Linked DNA regions of Homo sapiens: all the other regions are linked to region 3. Evidence: promoter capture Hi-C in 16 types of primary human blood cells and fetal thymus (Javierre and others, 2016). All regions are on one chromosome and are shown on one strand. The core of a region is centred on a gene start or on the middle of the fragment in contact, and the rest is flanking DNA. Distances in the headings are between cores, read along the strand shown.

What was found. The method cuts DNA at HindIII sites, captures the fragments that hold promoters and counts their contacts. A CHiCAGO score of 5 or more calls a contact.
Region 1: a contact is called between a fragment that was not itself captured here and the fragment with the promoter of HOXB5 in region 3, in 1 of 17 cell types (total CD4 T cells). The highest score is 7.3, in total CD4 T cells.
Region 2: a contact is called between a fragment that was not itself captured here and the fragment with the promoter of HOXB5 in region 3, in 4 of 17 cell types (erythroblasts, naive B cells, fetal thymus and 1 more). The highest score is 6.2, in erythroblasts.

Annotation. Positions count from the first base shown.
Region 1 is chr17:48,078,244-48,082,369 of GRCh38, forward strand. All of the region lies in intron 1 of CBX1 (chromobox 1), which reads right to left. Among named protein-coding and RNA genes, the nearest start is that of CBX1, 21 kb to the right of the region's middle. The HindIII fragment of the contact is 750 bases long and covers 2,314-3,063 here.
Region 2 is chr17:48,025,722-48,029,504 of GRCh38, forward strand. It overlaps COPZ2 (coat protein complex I subunit zeta 2), which reads right to left. Exons shown (of 9, transcript NM_016429.4): 7 at 3,404-3,455; 8 at 2,751-2,789; 9 at 446-754. The coding sequence ends at 707. Among named protein-coding and RNA genes, the nearest start is that of MIR10226, 5.3 kb to the right of the region's middle. RefSeq lists enhancers at 507-1,065, 1,066-1,622 and a silencer at 2,006-2,272. The HindIII fragment of the contact is 4,814 bases long and covers 1-3,783 here.
Region 3 is chr17:48,592,529-48,596,276 of GRCh38, forward strand. HOXB5 (homeobox B5) reads right to left here and starts at 1,251. Exons shown (of 2, transcript NM_002147.4): 1 at 593-1,251. The coding sequence starts at 1,154. The region is part of intron 1 of HOXB-AS3 (HOXB cluster antisense RNA 3); the gene reads left to right. HOXB6 (homeobox B6) reads right to left here. Exons shown (of 4, transcript NM_018952.5): 4 at 3,223-3,748. RefSeq lists a silencer at 875-924 and enhancers at 1,181-1,688, 1,390-1,459, 1,689-2,194, 3,237-3,748. The HindIII fragment of the contact is 5,828 bases long and covers 607-3,748 here.

The sequences.
Region 1 (4,126 bases), core at 1,439-3,938, 510 kb before region 3:
GTGCAGTGGTGCAATCTCAGCTCACTGCAAGCTCCGCCTCCTGGGTTCACACCATTTTCCTGCCTCAGCCTCCTGAGTAGCTGTGACTACCGGCGCCCGCCACCACGCCCAGCTAATTTTTTGTATTTTTAGTAGAGACGGGGTTTCACCATGTTAGCCAGGATGGTCTCGATCTCCTGACCTCATGATCCGCCTGCCTCGGCCTCCCAAAGTGCTGGGATTACAGAGCTGAGCCACCATGCCCAGTCTGTTTTTGTCTTTTTGAGACGGAGTCTCAACTCTGTGAGCTGGGCTGGAGTGCAATGGTGTGATCTCAATTTACTGCAACCTCTGCCTCCCGGGTTCAAGCGATTCTCCTGCCTCCACCTCCCGAGTAGTTGGTTTTACAGGTGCCCGCCATTACGCCTGGCTAATTTCTATATTTTTAGAAGAGACGGGGTTTAACCACGTTGGCCAGGCTGGTCTTCAACTCCTGACCTCGTGATTTGCCTGCCTTGGCTTTCCAAAGTGCTGGGATTACAAGCGTGAGCCACCGTGCCTGGACTTTTTTTTTTTTTTTTTTTTTTGAGACGGAGTCTCACTCCAGCCCAGGCTGGAGTGCAGTGGCACAATCTCGGCTCACTGCAACCTCTGCCTCCCGGGTTCAAGTGATTCTCCTGTCTCAGCCTCCTGAGTAGCTGGGACTACAGGTGTGAGCTACCACGCCCGGCTAATTTTTGTATTTTTAGCAGAGACAGGGTTTCACCAACGTTGGTCAAGCTGCCAGGCTGGTCTCAAACTCGTGACTTCGTGATTCACCCGTGCTGGCCTCCCAAAGTGCTGGGATTACAGGCGTGAGCCACCGAACCCAGCTCCAGCCCCGGCCCCGCACCTCCCCCTCTTTGAGATGGAGTCTCACTCCAGCCGGGCTGGAGTGCAGTGGCACAGTCTTGGCTCACTGCAACCTCCGCCACCTGGGTTCAAGTGATTCTTTTGCCTCAGCCTCCTGAGTAGCTGGGACTACAGGTGTGTGCCACCATGCCCAGCTAGTTTTTGTTTTTTTAGTAGAGACAGGGATTCGCCATGTTGGCCAAGCTGGTCTCGAACTCCTGACCTCAAGTGATCCACCCGCCATGGCCTCCCAAAGTGCTGGGATTACAGGCATGAGCCACTGTGCCCAGCCATGTTCTCTTGTTCTTTATGCAGTCTTTTCTGAATTGAACTTACGATTCACAAATTTCTTGTTAACTTATTGTATTTAGTTTATTTTACAACTTTTTTTCTTTTTTGAGACAGTGTCTCACTCTATCACCTAGGATGGAATGCAGTGAAGTAATTATGGCTCATTGCAGCTTTGACCTCCTGGGCTCAAGTGATCCCGCTGCCTCAGTCTCCTGAGTAGCTGGAACCACAGGTGTGCGCCACCATGCCTGGCTAATTTTTTAAATTTTTAGTAGAGACAAGTTCTCAATATGTTGCCCAGGCTTGTTTCAAACTCCCAGGCTCAAGTGATCCTCCCACCTCAGCCTCCTACTGGGATTACAGACATAAGCCATCACACCTGGCCTCCAATTTATTTCTAAAAACTAAGGAAGAGTCATAAAAATGCCAGAATGATCATGAAATTCTCTAAACTGGAACCCTGTAAAAATTTGGAAAACAAGTGTGGGGAAAACAGAACTGTAGTTATCAAAGATAATAGAATCTGAGTTTACTCCTTTATAAAATACATCATCAAGCTAGGTAACATCTAAGGGTTTTTCCAGTGTTGAAATTTTAGTCCCTTATAAATCTATTTTATTTAGTCCTTCATCCAAATTTGACTTTTTTGGGGGAGGGGGACACAGTCTCCCTCTGTCGCCCAGGCTGCAGTGCAATGGTGCTATCTCGGCTCACCTACGCCTCTAGGGTTCAAGTGATTCTCATGCCTCAGCCTCCTGAGTAGCTAGGACTACAGGCACCTGCCACCAGGCCCAGTTGATTTTTGTATATTTAGTAGAGATGGGGTTTCAGCATGTTGGCCAGGCTGGTCTCGAACTCCTGACCTCAAGTGATCTGCCCGTTTTGGTTTCCCAAAACTCTGGAATTAACAGGCATGAGCTACCGTGCCCGGACCCAACTCTTTGACTTCTGACAGACTTAAAGCCTTATGATTACCAATTTTTGTCAGTAGATGGCACTGTATCAATGAAACAAAATTGATCAACAAAACTGGCCAAAGAATTACCTGGATGGCAGGTAATCCAAGACAAGGAAGAGTTACGTCTCCGCTTGAGTTTAAAATAATACCAATTTGAGGTTAAACTGGTTATTCCTAGCATCCTTAGGAAAGGAAGCTTACTTAGTGTAATCATTAAGTTTTCTAAACACTGTAAAACTGGCATGTATAGACAGAATGCACTTAGAGTCCATCTACAAGGCTGGGTGCGGTGGTTCACGCCTGTAATCCCAGCACTTTGGGAGACTGAGGCAGGCAGATCACAAGGTCAGGAGTTCGAGACCAGCTTGGCCAATATGGCGAAACCCCATCTCTACTAAAAGTATAAAAATTAGCTGGGTATGGTGGCGCTCGCCTGTAGTGCCAGCTACTCGGGAGGCTGAGGCAGGAGAATTGCTTGAACCCGGGAGGCGGAGGTTGCAGTGAGCCGAGATCGCGCCACTGCACTCCAGCCTGGTGACAGAGCGAGACTCCATCTCAAAAAAAAAAAAAAAAAAAAAAAAAAAAAAAAATATATATATATATATATATATATATATATATATATATATATAAAATTTGTCTTAGAAAAATAAATAGCATTTCTTTTTGAAAAGTTTAATCTATTTATTTGCTTATTTAGAGACCAGGTTATGAGACTGCCTAATTTTTGTATTTTCGGTAGAGAAGGGTTTTTGCCATGTTGCCAATGCTGGTCTTGAACCCCTGGGCTCAAGCGATCCACCTGCCTTGACCTCCCAAAGTGCTGGGATTACTGGCATGAGATCTGGCCAAAAAATAAAACAGCACTGACTATTATCCACCTGATCCTTCTGCTATGAGCCGAAAGGGTCAGCATAGCTTCTAACTGATCTCTACCTACTGCAAGCTTATCCTCCCTTTATCATTAATTAGCATGGCCTCAGAGAGGAACAGTCATAGAATGGCATAATTGTTAGGTAAAGAAAGCGCCCAAATGGGGAAATCTAAAGTAAAGCATTCTCATGACTTCGATCTTTACTCACTTTTATTTTTTGAGACAGAGTTTCGCTCTTGTCGCCCAGGCTGGAGTGCAATGGAGCACTCTCAGCTCACTGCAACCTTCACCTCCTGAGTTCAAGCGATTCTCCTGTCTCAGCCTCTCAAAGAGCTAGGATTACAGGCGCTCACCACCATGCCCAGCTAATTTTTTTAATACTCTTAGTAGAGACAAGATTTCACCATGTTGGCCAGGCTGGTCTCGAACTCCTGACCTCAGGTGATCTGCCTGCCTCGGCCTCCCAAAGTGCTGGGATTACAGGCCTAAGCCACTGAGCCTGGCCCTTTCCTTACTTTTTAAGTACTGTCTTAAGAGCAACTCAAATAAGAAGAATATAGAAAACAGATCCCCGCTTCTTCCTGAGCTTTCTTTACTGGCTCATCCCAGAGCATCTACATCCAGAGATACTGTATTACTGGAGATTCCCAGCCAGCCTTCCCAACGTGTTTTTTTGTTTACAATTAGTTCTCTAGGGTTTCAAGAAAGCTATTTGTCAAAATCAGTAGAGAGGTCAGGGCTCGGCAGCACACACCTGTAATTCCAGCACTTTGGAAGGCCTAGGCAGAAGGACTGCTTGAGCCCAGGAGTTTGAGACCAGCCTGGGCAACGTAGTGAGACCCCATCTCTACAAAAAATAATCAGCTGGGTGTGCTGGGAGGATCGCTTAAGCACAGGAGGTTGAGGCTGCTGTGAGCTGTGATTGTGCCACTGCACTCCAGCCTGGGTGAGGAAGCAAGACTGTCTTTAAAAAAATGATAAAGAGGCTGGGCGTGGTGGCTCACACCTGTAATCCCAGCACTTTGGGAGGCTGAGGTGGGCAGATCACGAGGTCAGGAGATCGAGCCCATCCTGGCTAACACGGTGAAACCCCATCTCTACTAAAAATACAAAAAATTAGCTGGGTGTGATGG
Region 2 (3,783 bases), core at 1,144-3,643, 570 kb before region 3:
TGTAGTGCCCAGGATGTATGCCAGGATAGGAATTCCACGGTTCCAGGCATGCCAAGAAAAATAGCCATGCTGTTTCTCGGTTTGTTCAGAGGAAGCCTTACCTCTCTTCCCTTCTGGAGTTTGGGAATGGAAAAAATGACTCAAGGAATCCCCAGCGGAGCTACCATGTATGTACTGCATTGCAAAATAGGGGTACCATATTTTGCTCTCCCCTACCTGGCAGTATGCGCCACACATGGGGCTCCGTGGTATCAGCGTCGCACCCCCTCATGGTGTTAAATAGTCCCCTTTCCCTTGTCCCACATCTCTGCCCAATCACACAACCACAGGGACACGCCCCACCCTGGTACTGGATATCCCCACGATGAGCCACAGAAAGTGCAGGAGCCCTTATATGAACACACACACACACACACACTTCCTAGGCCAAGAGAGAAGGAGACCCTTGGCAGAAGACAAAAGCAGGTTTATTAGGGCCCTGGGGCCAGGAATGCCTAAGATATGAGTTAAGGCCAGGGCCGTGAGAAAAGGTGACTCTCCTGAGGCCAAACCTTTGCATCTCAGAAGCCCTGGCTGGAGACCTTAGGAGTCAGTTCTGGGAGGGACCTGGGGATACAGAGGGGTCTCTCCTGACCCTGGGATCTTTGGGCTTTTGCCAGGATTGGGGAAATGATCTGGGGGGCAGGGAGCCTTGAATCCACAGCCTTCATTTCAATAACGACCATTTAATTTGTTCCTTGGCAGACTGAAGAACCTGGGGTGGGGTGGGGGAGGTTGAGAGAGAATTGAGAATGTCAAATGCCTCCATACACAGTCATGGGGAGGTCCACAGCCCACCTTGCCGAAGCGCCCCTGCAACCACCGGTCACTAGGTGGCAGCAGCTTGTCTCCACTTGGCTTAAACGCGGCCAACCCTCCAAGTCAGAAAGCGCAGACCAAACCGGCTGCAGCCAGCTCCCACCTCAGGCCCAAGCCTGCCCAGACCTCTGGCTCCTGCATCTGCAGCGTGGGTGTGGCAGCAGCCTGTCTCCCCGCTGTCATGCCATGAGAGTTCCCGCCCACAGTGCCACGTCCAGGCGGAGACGGGGCCCAGGCCTGACACTCCCTGTGCTCAGACGCCTCAGCAAACCCCTAGCTCTGGCCATGGCTGGCAATGTGTCCTCAACACCCCACCGCAACCCACTGCTGATGTGGCATAGCTGGCAAAGGGTGGCCAGCCAGACCCTGCGGTGGGATGCCTGGTGGAAAGTCTCAGCCCAGTGCTTACACAAATCCATATAAGTGCACACGTGCATGCACAATACCAAAGCAGGAGAGGGGGACAGGACTCAGGTGTGTCCCTCAGATTGTCCCTCCAGCCACTCAGCCTTATTCCCCTCTAGAGAAGGAGGGAACGCTGTGTCTCCTCCTCCTGCACAGTCTCCCTCCTCTCTTGGGGACAGTGGCTTAGGGTTCCCCTGATTCTCCTAGCCAGAATCTAACTTTGTCCTCATTTTATCCCCCATTGGCTACCTGTAGCTTCCTTTGTTTTTACTCAAGAATTCCATCAAAAATGCTATGTTTTCATTCTTTCTCCCTTTGGAGAAATACTGATGGTTATTCAGCATGTGTTAACTGGCTTGGAGCCCTACTAAGAGCTTGTCACGCATTGGCTCATTGAATTCTCATAACTCCATGAAGAGGGTCCTGTTATTATGTGAGGCCCAGAGAGGTTGAGTAACTTGCCCTAGGTCACCCAGCTTTAGGTGGTAAGGTAGAACACGTACCCTGGGATGACTCCCATGAGCACCTGTGTTCTTATCTGCTCTGCTTATTACTCCCTACCCTCTTTCCACTCTAAAAATTGCCTTGCAGCTGCATTCATTCCAGCATGGTATGAGGAAACATGGGGAATCAGAGGGGAGGGCGAAGCAGAGTGAGCGCTAAGGGCAGTGCAGGAAAATGGGCGCCACACCTGGGACTCCACACGAGACAGCACAGGCTCATCTCGGTAGGGCCACCACAGCACGAGGAGTTAGCGCCAGGGCGGGAAGTTCCATACAAGCAGGATTAGTCTGAGCAGAGAGACCTGCAGGTGGACAGAAGAGAGGTCAAGACAGTCGTCCTGAACTAGCAGGAAGTTTGTGCAGCTGGGGAACTGATCAGGCTTCAGAGCCAGGAACCTCCCCCTGGCCTTACGCTCTGCAAGCACCTCCAGATAAGACCATGCAGGGTTGTGGCAGGTTCTTCCATAGCCAGGTCACTCAGGGGTAAGGTGACAAGTGATGAGTGGGGAAAGTCAGATCCTATCATGGGTTTGAGAGTCCCTTAACAATCCCAGTGTGCACCCTAAGTGGCAAGGACAGGGGTTAAGAGCCAAACTCCTATTTGGTACCCTTTCCAGGTTTCGGTAGAGGGCGCATCAGAGGCCTGAGTTCCCAGATTTTTGGGGTGCACAAGTGACCCAGCCATCTCCAAGGTAGGCAGCTCATCCTAGTTTCAATCCAACTAAACCAAGCCAGGAGATGAGGTGGGCTGATGGTAACATGCCCATCCATCCATTAGTACCCAGCTCCCCTGAGTTGGAGAGCCCGGAGGCCTCCAGTGAGTCTTTCCAAGATATGACCTGTCACTGCCTCATCCCTTCCCTTCTCACCCCTGATTTTTCAGACTTGATAACTTCACTGGGTCCCCCTAGGATGCTCTAGGATGCTCTGCTCCCCGTATCTCTCTAGACCATTTCTAGCCAAGGCAGATGCAGGGGGGCCTACCTGGGCCACACTCTGTTCAGTCAAGCCGCCATCATCTGCCTGTAAGGAAGCAGAGTCAAGGGGTGGGGTAGGGCCAGCATGAGGGTCCTGGGTCAGGGAGGTGAAGGAAAGGGGCTTGGGGGTATGGGTGAGGTGGTGCAGTGGTTAGGGTGATTCAGAGCTGCACCTGTGTCACTGGTTAATAGAAGTCCTGCAGCCTGTCATTTGGAAGCCAGGACCTCTGGGATTGTGCTATGGTGCGTGGAGGGTGAGGGAAGATGGGAAGAAAGATGGGAAGAAAGGTTTCATCCAGACATGAGAAAGCCAAACAAGGCAGGGAGGTTCTATCCATACCCCTGACCCCCAACCTCAAGGCCAAGGCAGCCACCTAGTGCCTCTTTGAAGATGTATTTATTTCCCCAGTCTATACTTCCTACCAGGAAAGAGGTGAGGTACTTGTGCTCCTAGCCGGGGAGAGGACAGGAAGATTTCTTCCATTAACTGGCATCCCACCCAGAAACTGCTGCTCATCTCACCCCTAACAAGTGTGTCAGCCCAGTGGTTGGCTTCTGCTAGAGGAGCTTGGGCTTCTACCATCTAGGCCCTAGCAGCCCTATTCCCAGGGAGGACAGGAAGGGCAGCCTAAAAGAGGAGGTGTCCAGGAAGACTCTTACCCTAAAATTCACCTTCTGGATCACTTGCTGGGGGTCACTCTCCAGAATCACACTACAAGATGAGAGGAAAAACCAGGAGGCAAATCAGTGGCACAATCCTCCCCTCCGCCCCTTCTCCTTGCCAAGCCTCTTCCCTCTCCGAAGGCATCCTGCAACATCTCCACCTTCCAGGTCCCTTCCCACTGATAGCCCTCAAGTCAGAACTCTCCCTCAGCATGGAGAGCCCTCAGCTCTGATTCTTTGATGCTTCAACCCAGTGGTCCACATGCTTTGTCATCCCTGGGCAAAATCTTTGAAACTGGATAAGAACAGTCTGGTCTAGGATGATCAGGTTGTCAAAAGCAGGGACTCTCAAAACTCAGAGCTCTTGAAAGTTCACT
Region 3 (3,748 bases), core at 1-2,500:
CGGGGGAGCAGGACCCAGGCGTCCCGGCACCCAGCTCACCACAGCTCCAATCCTCTCTACTCCAGATGCCCACATTCAAGCTCGATTTCTGCACCCCTTTCTACTGCATCCCCCACTTCTGCAGGCAGCCAGTGCGCCCGGCTTTGTCTCTTGCTCGCTCCTAGTGCCTCACCCTTGGCTGGGCTCAGGCGGCCGCTCGCCCCGGGAGGGAGGAGAGCGGTTGCACTTTTGCCCCGGAAAGCTCCTTTTACTGTTCACCCCTTCTTTGCTAGCGACAGTCTCAAAATTTCAGGGGTAAGCAGGACCCTTCCCCACATTATATGAACCCCATCCTTTATCCTAAAGCTGGTTCAGCTGCGCTAATAAAAACCTAAGCCGAAGCTGGAAACAAATTATTAAAAATACCCCCCTCTTAACAGAGAGACCCTTTTTGGCTCTGTCTACGAAGCTATGAGGCCCCTCTTAGATACTTCTCCCCCTTAGAAAAATGAATCTATATTTAGGGTAAAGCCAAGCTCTCCTTGTCCCCCCGATCCCACCCCAAAACGCAGAGAAGGAAAGCCGAGAAGACAAAAAAGAGAGAGAGAATTACCATGGCTGATGTGAAGCTTCCTCATCCAGGGGAATATTTGCGGAGTCTGCCCCTCGGGCGCGGCTGTGGAGGTGGCCATGGGCTCTGGCTGCGCCCGAGCTAGGCTGGGGCTGCTTAGCTGGCTTGCCGCTTCCTCAGGCTCCGAGGACGCGCTGGCCTCGTCTATTTCGGTGAAATTGGCGCTGGAGCTGGCTGAGGTCGCCTGGTCGGAGGGGGACGAAGCAGAGGGCTTGGCGCCGTGGCTGTCGCCGTTGGTGCAGGGCAGGGACTCGGGCGAGGACAGGGAGCAGCTCGAAGCCGCTTGCCTGAAGCGGGGCTCCTGGGCGGGCGCGGGGAAGGCGCGCGAGCTCTCGCCCACCGCCCCAAAGTGGCTGGAGGAGGCCGAGGAGCGGTTGACGCTGAGGTCCATCCCATTGTAATTGTAGCCGTAAGAGCCGGTGTGCATGGCAGCGGGATCCCTGTAAGAGCCGCTCAGAGAGCTGCCACTGCCATAATTTAGCAACTGATAGTCCGGGCCATTTGGATAACGCCCCGAGAAGGAGTTTACAAAGTACGAGCTCATTTGGGTGATTTTGGAGGGCTTGATTTGTGGATCGTGGTCGTTATAACCCTGTGCTTCACGATTTATGATGTATTAATGAATTATAGCGATGCACTGTACTTCGTTTTGCTATGTATGCGGCCAAATATGGGGGGGGGGTTGGAAGGGGGGTGGGGGGCGTTAGGGAATCACGTGCTTTTGTTGACCAGTCGTAAATTCTCGCTGATGACCTCAAGAGGTAATTCATGCTCTATGGTTACAAATAATGACGATCCGAGAATCGTTAGGGCCGATTCAATGCGAGCCTCCGAGAGAGGGGGAAAAAAGGAGAAGGGGGAGAAACAGAGAGAAGGTTGGCTTTGGCCTCTGAGCAGAGCGCGCCACCTCCCGGCGACCGACGGGAGCGCGGGCGTGAGACCGCCATGGCGGCGGGCGGCTGCCTCCCTGCTGGCTCCCTGCAGGCTCCCTGCAGTCGCCGGGAGAGAAAGAAACCCGGCCAAGGCTCAGCCACAGGGTTGAGCCTTTTAGAGCAGGGGTTGGGCTTTTTACCCACTTTCTTGTGGGTGGGGTTAGCCTCTCTATTTGGTTCTTTCTCCCTACATCATCATTGTCGTTATTATTTTAACTTTGGATGAGAAGATCAAAGATAGAGTTGCTTTTCCCTTTCTTGGGCTTTGCAAGTCTCCGAATTGGAGGCGGAAATGGGGGAAGGGTTGGAAGTTGTGTGTGAAAAACAATTATTGCAACGGGTTTTCCCCAGGAGCTTAGTCCGGCCTGCATCCTGGTGGAACTGCTGTTACCGGTCCACAGCGCCCAGGCCGAGCCGGCAGGGCTGGGCGGGAGGCTTGAAAAAGAAGGAGAAGCGTTCACTTCTCCTGGGCCACTTGGAAGTTCGAAATCCCCTTCCGGACCTCCTTGGTGGTCCTTAGCCCAGGCGTGGGGAGTGACAGAGCAGGACAGGGACCCCAGAAACCGAGCACAGCTGGGGCTAAGCGGCCTAGTTGCCGAAAAGACTGCAGCGGCCACCGCGTCTGCTGCTTAGTTTGAGTAGTAACATGTGTCTGAGAGTTTGTAAAGCGGGATCCCTTCCCCTCCTCCTCGGCTATTGCATTCGGAGGCCCCACTACAGGTCCCTCACTCGCAGCTAGGCAGTTTGAGAATTTGCCTGGTGGCAGCCGCCTTCCCGGAAAAGGGGTTCCAAGGACCCGCATGCTTTGCTGAGCACGCTGGGCGGCCAGAGACCGCCGCAGCTGGTCTCCTATTAGGAGGGGACTATTTTCTTTAAAAATAAGAAAGGAAGCGAGAGGGCGGAGGAATAAAGGAAAACAGTGACCGCAGCTTGCCTTCTGGGTGCCGGTGCAAGCAGAGAGAGAATGAGCCATTCTGGGTTGAGAGGATGACACTAAAAGCCCCATCACCTGGCCTCCTGCCCTGGGGTCTCCAAGGAGCAAGGGAAAGTTGTGGCCTTCGGCCTGTGCCTGGCTGGTGGCTTTACATTCCCCTACTTGAGGCTGATCTCCTACTTGAGGCTGATCTGCTACTTGAGGTGGGAAGGGGCACCTGGAGCCTTCAGCTGCAGGGTGAGAGATACCCAGTGGCCCCATTTTTCAGTCTCCAGAGCCACAGGCCAGGAGCGGAGGGCCAAGGCTGGCGAAAAAACCTGGCCATGTGGACGGGCCAAAGACCAGGGGTCGCTGCGAAGGTGAGGACAGAAAAGCGCTGCAGAGGCCCCCAGACTATGGCTCCGTCTCCGCCAGAGAGCTTTAGGGGCCTCAGTGGCTCCCTTAGTGCTGTGTATACACGAGGAAAGGCTAGAGAATGAGAGGGACACAGCACCTCTCCATCCCCCAAGTCTGCACGGGGAGAAGCGGCTGTGAGCCTCAGCACCAGGGAAACGCAGCGCTGGGGCCTGGGCAGGACTGATCGCTCCAGCCTTTATCTCAGCTGTAACTTCCCAGTCGAACAGGGCTCGCTTCGGCGGGCCAGGGCTCTCGCCTTTGCTGAAGAATTCTGGCTCAGGAAAGATGGAGAGGCTGGGGGTTGAGGAGAGAGGAAAAAATGGCAGGGGAGGATTGGAGGTGACCGAGCGTCGAGTTTTCACATCTTTATTATTGTTGTTGTTGTTGTTATTATTATTATTATTATCATCATCATCATCATCATCATCATCGAAGTATTTCACGTCCAGAGCTAAGACAAGACTACAAACACAACACATAGAAAATTAATAAAATAGAACTTTGTTTTCTTCTGAGGCTCCTCTTCTTACTTCTAGGTAGTATGTGCTCCTTCCAGTGGCTTTGGGGAGGGGGTGGGAGAGACGACAGGTCTGGGATCAGGGAGTCTTCAAGGCCCCCGCTGAGGGGACAGCGAATCTACCATTGAACCGTGCACGGGGGACATGGACAAAATGAGACGCGACAGGGACAAGAGCATTTTGCTCTGCTTCCAGGAAACATCAAGTGAGTCCGCTCCTCAGTTCTCACCAGGAAGCCTGATCAGGCTGAGGCGAGTTCCTCGGGAAGGAAGGGCGCGCGGGATGCTGGGTGGGCTCGAGTAGTGAGGCCTCAGAGCACCCGCCGGGAGCTGTGCGGGCGGGGGCGTCCAGGAGAGCG